Regions from separate parts of the Homo sapiens genome. Here region 2 is linked to region 1. Evidence: promoter capture Hi-C in 16 types of primary human blood cells and fetal thymus (Javierre and others, 2016). All regions are on one chromosome and are shown on one strand. The core of a region is centred on a gene start or on the middle of the fragment in contact, and the rest is flanking DNA. Distances in the headings are between cores, read along the strand shown.

Region 1 (4,162 bases), core at 256-2,755:
ACCTCTCTCTGTTGACAGTGGCTTCCAAAGAGGCTGGCATGGGGCACTCATCTCTTCTGCTCAGTCTGTGTCCTCCCACTCCCTGATCTGACCCCGTGCCACCTTCTGGCTCTGCCAGCCTCTACCTGGTTCCTGTAGTGCCGCACAGAGCCTCCCTTTCCCGGCACAGCCTCCCTTTCCCGGCATAGCCAGCTTTCTTCAGGGTCCTGCCAGGAAGGGCCGCCCCCCCAACATTTCCAGATTGCCTCTGTCCCTCCACTCTGGGGTGCCTGGAAGGACTGTCCAGGACCCAGAGAGCAGGCAGAGCCCTGGATTCCTATCCTGGAATCCTCCCCCAGGATGAAGAAGCTCTGCCTGCCTGAACCCTCCAGCGATGGGCCTGGAGTCCTGTCCCTGTCCTTTCCTTAATCCCCAGCCTCTGGATCTTCCAGTCACCCCGGCTTTGCCCACCCTCACCCCATTTAGAAGCTGGGCTCGCTAGGAAACTGCTCCCTTAGCATCTGCAGAACTTCCTCAAGAAGTGAAATCCCCAGGTCCACTTTGAAGGAGAGGAAGGGATCACTGAGGTCTGGGGTAGGTGTCCTCTGGAAGCAGGGAGTGTCCACAAGGCCCTTCTCTGAGTGCTGGTGGAGGGCACTCGACAGAGAGAGCGCCGATGGCAGGGTGGCAGAGTAGGCTGCTGTGTAGGCAGGTGGGGGCTCCAGGATGTTGGGGCAGCTTGAGCTCTCTCGGTAGAGGCGTGGGGGCTTGGGTGGGGCCAGCAGGGTGGCCCGGGGCTGCTCGTCCCCCCACAGTGGCAGGCGCCGGCCATCTGGCCTCCCTTGTAGCTCCCGGATGACTTCTCGGTTGCTGTACTCCTCGTGGTCCCCACCTGCTGTGCTGGCCTGGCTAAGCACACTACTCTGTCGCCGGAGCCGCCGTGGCCGCCCCAGGCTCAGCTGCTTGAAGAAGGAGGCGTTGCGGAAGGAGCCTTTCCGCCAGGTCTCCATGGGGCCCAGGGGAGCCAGCAGACAGGTGTTCAGGAGCAGCCAGGGTGCATGTGGTCCCTGCTGGGGCAGTGAGTGCCAGCAGCTGGGGAGGCTCCCCTAGGAGCAGAGGCCTCAGGGTTTCCACTCAGCACAGACCTTTGACCACATCTTGGATGGTGAGAGGAGGGCTCAGGAAGAAGGAACTTTTTTGCCCAGGAGAGCAGACAGCTGGGAGTTCCTGGCAGCAAGAGTTTCCCACAGGGACAGGAGTGGCCTGGTTACTGAATAGGGTAGTGGAAAAAAACCCAGGAGGAAGAAGCAGCACTTACTGGAGCCAGAATGAGGGCAGCTCCGGCGGAGGCAGAGGTGGACCTTCTCGGGCTGGGTGAGGCTGGCGAGCGCTCCTTCCACAGGCAGGCAGCAGATGGCCCGAGCTCACTCGCCCTGGTGTTTGCCTGGCTCCTATATGTCTCTGGGGCAGTGTGGGGCCGTGCCCTCTCTGCCAGTGGCTCCCGGACTCTGATGAGTGGCCTGGCTGTTTGTGGCGGTGGAGATGTGTTTTTGTTCTCAGCTGACTCAGTCAGGTGGGAAGCCAGGTTTCGTGCTCTTGGGTAATTGCAGCATCCGCGTGCAGGGATGGGGCAGCTGGGACCAACACCCCAGGGCAATGGGGAGCTTAAGATTCCTCTGGGGACTCGTGTGGGGGCAGCCCTGCTTTATGTGTCACCACGCGGCTTCCTTTCTGATCACAGCCCCACCACCCTGGGCCCCCAGCAGGTGCGCCTGGCTCCCTGCCCACAGTGTCTGGGTAGGAAGAGTTCGGGGCGGGTGGGAGTTAATTGAAAGGCAGGCGTGTGGAACGATTGTTGGGGAAGGAAGAGACCTGTAGCTGGTATGGGTGACTCAGCCCCGCTGTCAGGCCCTCACGAGCAGGAACAGGAAGGGGGGCAGAGGGTGTGTTAATGGGGAGCAGCGCCATGCCTGTGATGGGCGGGCTCTGCTGCCCAGGGTTGGGCTGGGGGCCCGCCAAGGGTGGCTCCAAGTTTTCTTGGCAGAGCAGCATTAACCTGGGGATGGGAGATGTGGCCTCCTCTTGGCCTGCCATCAGCCTGGCTGCTATTTCCTTGTCCTCCCTTGTTTTACCCTAGAGGGCTCCTGCCAGGAGAGCGGCTGCTGAAGGCCGGGCCGTGTTGCCTCCTACCTGGCTGTGCTCCAGCCCTTCCCCTCTGGCTACCGGGCTTCCTCTGGGGTCCTCCTTCTCTTGCAGGAGGCTGGGCCAGGGAGGCTGCCGTGAATTGTCAGCCGTGCTCTGGGCCAGGCTTAGCAGTCCGGCCTAGCTGGGACTGCTGCAGCCGGGGAGAGGGGAGGGGTGCAGCCATCGGGAGGAACAGGGGAACCCAGGCTGAGTAACACTTCCTGTTTCTCTACACCCCTTACTCCAAACCTGCTGGCCAGGGCCTGGCATCTCAACCCTAGCTGCTCCCTTCCTATTCCCCGGGTCACTGACCACCACATTTTCCTCCTGCCTTGCTCTGTGACAGCGTCCCCATGCGGGGTACCGCGGATCAGGGCCCCACAGCTCTCTGCTACGGGCAGGCCACCGCATCTTGCAATCCCTGGCCTAGCTCACTTCTGTGCCAACTCAGGTGTGCTTCACACTTCTCTGAGAAGCTGTTGGGACCACATGATCATCACACAGCCTAAGCGGCACCGAGGGAGGAAAAGGTTTAATTCCCACCGCAGACCTTATCAGGGCGTGGGTTGGCAGCTTAGGTCCCGCTGTAGAGCTGCTTCTCCACCCTACAGCCTTGGCCCATTCAGATGGTTGTTTATTATTCTTTTGATTATGGGCCCTGCCCTCCAGGAGCCCTGGTGTGTAGTTTTAGAGGCACGCTGGCCTCATGCTTGCCTTTTTCCCCTTCGAGGGTGGGGCATTCCGGGCTGCCTCGGGTAGGGCTCCCTTCTGCATCCTCAGCAAGAGCCAGACCACAGGGCACCGGGCATAGAGAGTGCCAGGGTCAGTGCCCAGCAGAGCCAAGTGCATCCCTGCTCCTCAGACAACTTCCCTTCCTTGGGAACCTAAGAGGCAGAAGCTACGGGGTAGAGGGAAAGGGGTGAAGGGTAAAGGGCCCAGAGGAAATGAAGGGAGACGAGGGCCTGGCTTAGAGGGCCCGCAGGTGATTCCTGAGAAACAGATGGACCGGAGCTGACGCGGCCTGGGGAAAGGGAGGGGGAGCTGGCTGGGTAGAAGCCGGCCTGGAGGCCAAAGGTGGCGTGTTCTGGGGGACACAGGCGAGCCAGGATTCCAAAAGGATGCTCCGGGTTCCTTCCCTTCCTCTGCCGTCCTCCCTCCGAGACTCTTAGAACGCAGCACTGCCTCGGCACCGTACTCGGAGTCTGTGAGGCTGTGCCCTGCTGTCCCTGACCCCTCCCTGTCCCTGCCCTGTCCGACAGGGCTCAGTGCTGTCAGAGAGGGACTACGAGAGCCTCGTCATGATGCGCATGCGCCAGGCGGCCGAGCGGCAACAGCTGATCGCACGGATGCAGCAGGAAGACCAGGAGGGGCCGCCTACGTAGCCCCAGCTCCAGCCATCCACCCCTCAGCCCTTTTCTTCAACGTCACCAATAAATTTTTTTTTTTTTTAAGATTTTACCTCTATCCCATACATAGGTATAAGGTGCTGGGCTCTGCCGCAGAGCGCTCCACCCAGGCCTGGCGCCCCTCCCAGGAAGTGGGCAGACCCCCAGGGAAACGCTCCGCAGGGTGAGAGTCCCAGAGTCCGTGCACAAGCAGAGCACAGGCGCAGCCACTCATCACAGCCCTTTATTGGCTTGGGCTAGCTATGCAGGAGCCACGCGCCAGGGCCGCTGGAGTGCCCAGCTCCGGCCCGGGGCAGCTGCCCGAGGAACATGGCCTACACAAGGCCCTCGGCCCAGGCCCGAAGCAGGAGGGCAGCTGGGAGCACCAGGGCACCGGGCACTGCCCTCTCCCACTGCTTGACGCAGGGTTTCAGAGAAGGCCATTCACTGCCCTTTGGGGCTGGGCCCATGGCGGTGATGATTTGGGAAGAGAGGAGCAAGGCAGACGGTGAGGCAGGAGCTTGGAGGTCAGGGCCCACAGCAGCCCCTCCACAGGGGTGCCCCGTCTGCAAATCAGCATGAGAAGGTCACTCCTTGTGCAGACACCACACCAG
Region 2 (4,130 bases), core at 1,480-3,979, 220 kb after region 1:
CTCAGCTTCCCCTGAGTAGCTGGGACTATAGGCATGTGCCACTATGCCTGGCTAATTTTTAAAAAAAATTTTTGTAGAGACAGGGTCGCATTATTTTGCCCAGGTTAGTCTCGAACCTCTGGGCTCAAGCTATCCTTCCACCTTGGCCTCTCAAAGTGCTGGGATTACAGGTGCAAGTCACCATGCCTGGCCCTTTCCTCTCTTTTCATTGACTAATGGTTAACCTTTTTTTTTTTTTTTTTTTTTTTTTTTTGAGACAGGGTCTCACTCTATCACCAGGAGGGCTGGAGGGCAGTGGCACGGTCTCAGCTCACTGCAGTCTTGACCTCCTGGGCTCAGGTGATCCTGCCTCAGGCTCCCGAGTATCTGGGACTACAGGTGCATACCACCATGCCCAGCTTATTTTTTATATTTTTTGTAGAGATGGGATTTCGCCATGTTGTCTGGACTGGGTTAACACCTTTATTAGTAGATTTAGTCGCTTTATTCCTACTGCATTTTATTGGCAGGATACGTGTGACACAGAGAGTGGCTCTCTGTGGCCCCTGGGTACATTGAGGAAGCCAGAATATTGACGGTCATCCAGGCTTGCAGGCTGCCATCTCCACCTGGAGTTCAGATGCCAGGCCTCACTCCTCTCCAGGGCCATCTGATGGCTTTCAGGATGGATTTTTTTGTTTTGAGATGGAGTCTCACTCTCTTGCCCAGGCTGGAGTGCAGTGGCGCCATCTTGGCTCACTGCAAGCTCTGCCTCCCGGGTTCACACCATTCTCCTGCCTCAGCCTCCCGAGTAGCTGGGACTACAGGCGCCCACCACCACGCCCGGCTAATTTTTTGTATTTTTAGTAGAGACGGGGTTTCACCGTGTTAGCCAGGATGGTCTGGATCTCCTGACCTCATGATCCGCCCGCCTCGGCCTCCCAAAGTGGTGGGATTACAGGCGTCAGCCACCGTGCCCTGCCAGGATGGATTTTTTAAAGAAAGAAAAACTAAAATTTTTATTCTCCCTGCATGATAAACAAACAACAATTATTCTTCCTCAGAAACAACAGTTTAAGAAAAAAAAAGCAATGAGGTCCCAAAACACTCTCCCAAAGTGCAGATCATGGGATGGTAAGAGAATGTTTCTGTACCCGAAAATAGTGTTTCTGTCATTCAGGCAAGATTCTAGCTTTGCCTTTTCCCTACTTCCCATTTTCTACCTCAGAAACAGAAATTGGAATATGAGAGGGTGGAGAATCGCTTTAGAGGAACTGAAACAGAGTTTGTAAGTTGAATGGTTTCTAGCCCATGTGTAAACCTGGGTGCGGTGTGAGAGGAGCTCTGCACGACTCCACGGAAGGGAACCCAGTGAGTTGTAGCTATAGTTTCTTAATTGATTTAGAGGTGACAGCGTAAACAATGGCTCTAAAAAAAGGTGAAACTCCATTTACCAAAACCAAATTTGACACTAGCTCCCAAAGCTAACTTGTTAATACAGATTTATCTTAGGCTAGTGAAGTGGCACTAAATTTGAAACTGAGAGTCTTGGGTGCTGTCTTTTATCTGTCTTGTGGCTTACTGAATGGTCACAAATAAGTCAAGTGACCTCTTCATGTTCCAGTTCCTTTTCAGTAATGGGACTAACCATAGGAAAAAATAGTATTGGCCTAAAATGCTGATCTCTTTCCTTTGACCCTGAAAACTCCAAGGAACTCCAGTTAGGGCTTCCTCAACCTAGTAAGATTTGTAAGTTGGTAGAATCTTACTTATCACCCCTGACTTTCTTCCTTCTTCCTCCTTAGTGAAATAGACAGCAAGTTAGAGCAAATGGAGCAATATTTAGTGCTAAAGCTTTAGAGCCAGGGGAGGGTAATCACCAACACGGGCCAAGCCGTAATGACTTGGTACACCCAGAGAAGGCTGGGCTGCAGCCAGGCAGATAACCTAAGGGACTGCTGCTGTTCTCTCCCGGCACACACACGTGCTCATCACTCAGCGCCTGGCAAGATCAGGGCTGGAGTGACACAGGCATGCATCCAATACCTGATCCAGAAATAGGCCCTGGCTGCAGGCACAGCAAGTAAACAAACGTCCCGCCAGCTGTGGCCGAGGTGCACCCTTCCAAGCAGACCTGCCCACCAGGACCATTGCTGGAAGACGGAAGCCCTGGAGCCTCTCCCTGGCCCTGTTTTGGAAGGAGTCCTCCAAGGCTGAGAACAGCCCCAGCCACATGAAGCAGGCAAGGTTTTCTTGAAAATTCTAAATTATCCCAACCAGCTTTGGCCCTACGTCAGTTATAAGACTCAAGATAGGATACTGCCATTGGGATGTTAGGTTTGTGCGAGGGCTGTTTACTTGAGCCCAGAAATAGGTTATTTAAGGCAGAGATTCATTCATCTAACCAATATTTGTTGAGCCCCTGCCATGTTCCAGGCATGGTGCATGGTGTTAAATAAAGCAGAACGGCATCTTCCCACATAGAATGATGGAGGGGGGAGTAGAGCCTACCTCATTAATTCTGTGGAAGTTGTAAGCACAAGGTGCTTTGAGAGCACATGGGAAGGAGATATGAGAGCCCTAGACCAGTTGGAGTGGGGTAGGAGAGAGGCCGTGTTAGGGGAGCTGAGTCCATAGAAATGAATAGGAGTGAGAGGAAATAGAAGAGTAAGAGCATGGGGACCAAGAGGAGTCCTGGAAGAGGAAAACAGCATGTGCAAAGCCCTAAAAGCAAAAGGGAACTTGGAGGATGGAAGGTAGTTCAGTGTAGCTGGAGCACAAAGAACAAAGGAGGGACAGACGAGAGGTGAGGGTGGAAATTACTAAACAAGGCCAGGTGTGAAGGATTTTATAAACCATGTTAAGGAGTTTGGAGTTTATTGTGGGAGAACAGGGAGCTAATGGCTGATTTTAAGAGGGGCAGTGACAAGATGAGATTTACATCTAGAAGGTTATGGCTGCCATGGGTTTGCCATAATTAAAGTGATTGAGGGTGGACAAGTTATTCACACTTGGCAGCGATACATGTCTATGTGAAATGGTTTTTCTTTGTTTTTATTTTCTACTTCAATTTTTCTTGTTATTTTTTCACTATTACAGAACAAGTAGAATCATGTATGGCAGATTGTATTTTCCAAAGATGGCCAAATCAGTGTATCCCATCCCACTCATTCATGTTCCAGTGTGATGTGGACACTCCTCCCCTGAGATCTTCAGTCAATATTCCCTCCCTTTGAACCTGGGCAGACCTATGTAACTGCCTTGCTAATAGAGTACAGCATAAATAATGGGACTTCTGAGGCAAGGTCATGAAAGCACTCCACCTGGGGTCTCTCTCTCTCTCTCTCAGCATGCTCCTTGGTAGTTCTGAGCCGGCATGTAAGAAGTCGGCCACAGAGAGGTAGAGAAGCCCAGGGAGTCCCAGCTGTTTGAGTCTTCCCACCCCAGGCATCAGACATATAAGTAAGTAATTCAAATGATTTCATCCCCCAGTTTTTAAGCTGTCCCAGGTGACACCAAGTGGTACAGAGACAAGCTGTCCCTGCAAAGCCCTACAGATTCAATAAATGTCATGGTTTAAACCACTAAGTTTTGGGTTGATTTGTTACTCAGCAATAGATAACCAATGCACCATAAGCTAAGCTTCAGGTTTTAAGTAGCTAATTTTTAAGTATTTTATTTTGCAGCCCCCTCTAGTCTGCGATGGTTGCAGAATTTAATACTTATGCTGGCTACAGTAGGGAGAGGGGCAAAATTGGACACAGGAGACCAGCTGTGAGGTGGTTGCAGTTGTCTAAGAAAGAGATGATAGTACTTGAGGACTTTTTCCACTTAGGATGTAGAATACTGCAAGAAAATGTCCCTTCCGTCCTAACAATGTGAAAAAGCAGGTACAAAATCATAACTTTTCTTGAGCCCATCAGAAAGCCAAGGCCACAAGGCAACCAAATAAAGGAGAGATAGTGTTAGGGGAGCTGAGTTCATAGAAATGAATAGGAGTGAGAGGAAATAGAAGGAGAGATAGTGACCCATCAACTGTTTCAACTTTGGCAAAGATGTGGCTGTCTTACAAGTGGGTAAGAAAAAGACAATAAAAATGTTAACAAATTTGTAAAGTCCACATGTGGCCTAGCATATCAGTTTAGAATAGC

Evidence for each region. The method cuts DNA at HindIII sites, captures the fragments that hold promoters and counts their contacts. A CHiCAGO score of 5 or more calls a contact.
Region 2: a fragment that was not itself captured here is called in contact with the fragment with the promoter of C15orf62 in region 1 in 2 of 17 cell types (naive B cells and total B cells); the score reaches 6.6 in naive B cells.

What each region holds. Positions count from the first base shown.
Region 1 is chr15:40,767,323-40,771,484 of GRCh38, reverse strand. It overlaps C15orf62 (chromosome 15 open reading frame 62), which reads right to left and starts at 1,505. Exons shown (of 1, transcript NM_001130448.3): 1 at 1-1,505. The coding sequence starts at 989. The coding sequence ends at 462. It overlaps DNAJC17 (DnaJ heat shock protein family (Hsp40) member C17), which reads left to right. Exons shown (of 11, transcript NM_018163.3): 11 at 3,423-4,162. The coding sequence ends at 3,545. GCHFR (GTP cyclohydrolase I feedback regulator) reads right to left here. Exons shown (of 3, transcript NM_005258.3): 3 at 3,777-4,162. The coding sequence ends at 4,136. RefSeq lists enhancers at 372-988, 946-1,035, 989-1,607, 2,226-2,844. The HindIII fragment of the contact is 5,370 bases long and covers 1-4,162 here.
Region 2 is chr15:40,547,933-40,552,062 of GRCh38, reverse strand. It overlaps a transcript of CCDC32 not described here. Among named protein-coding and RNA genes, the nearest start is that of CCDC32, 15 kb to the left of the region's middle. The HindIII fragment of the contact is 1,788 bases long and covers 1,836-3,623 here.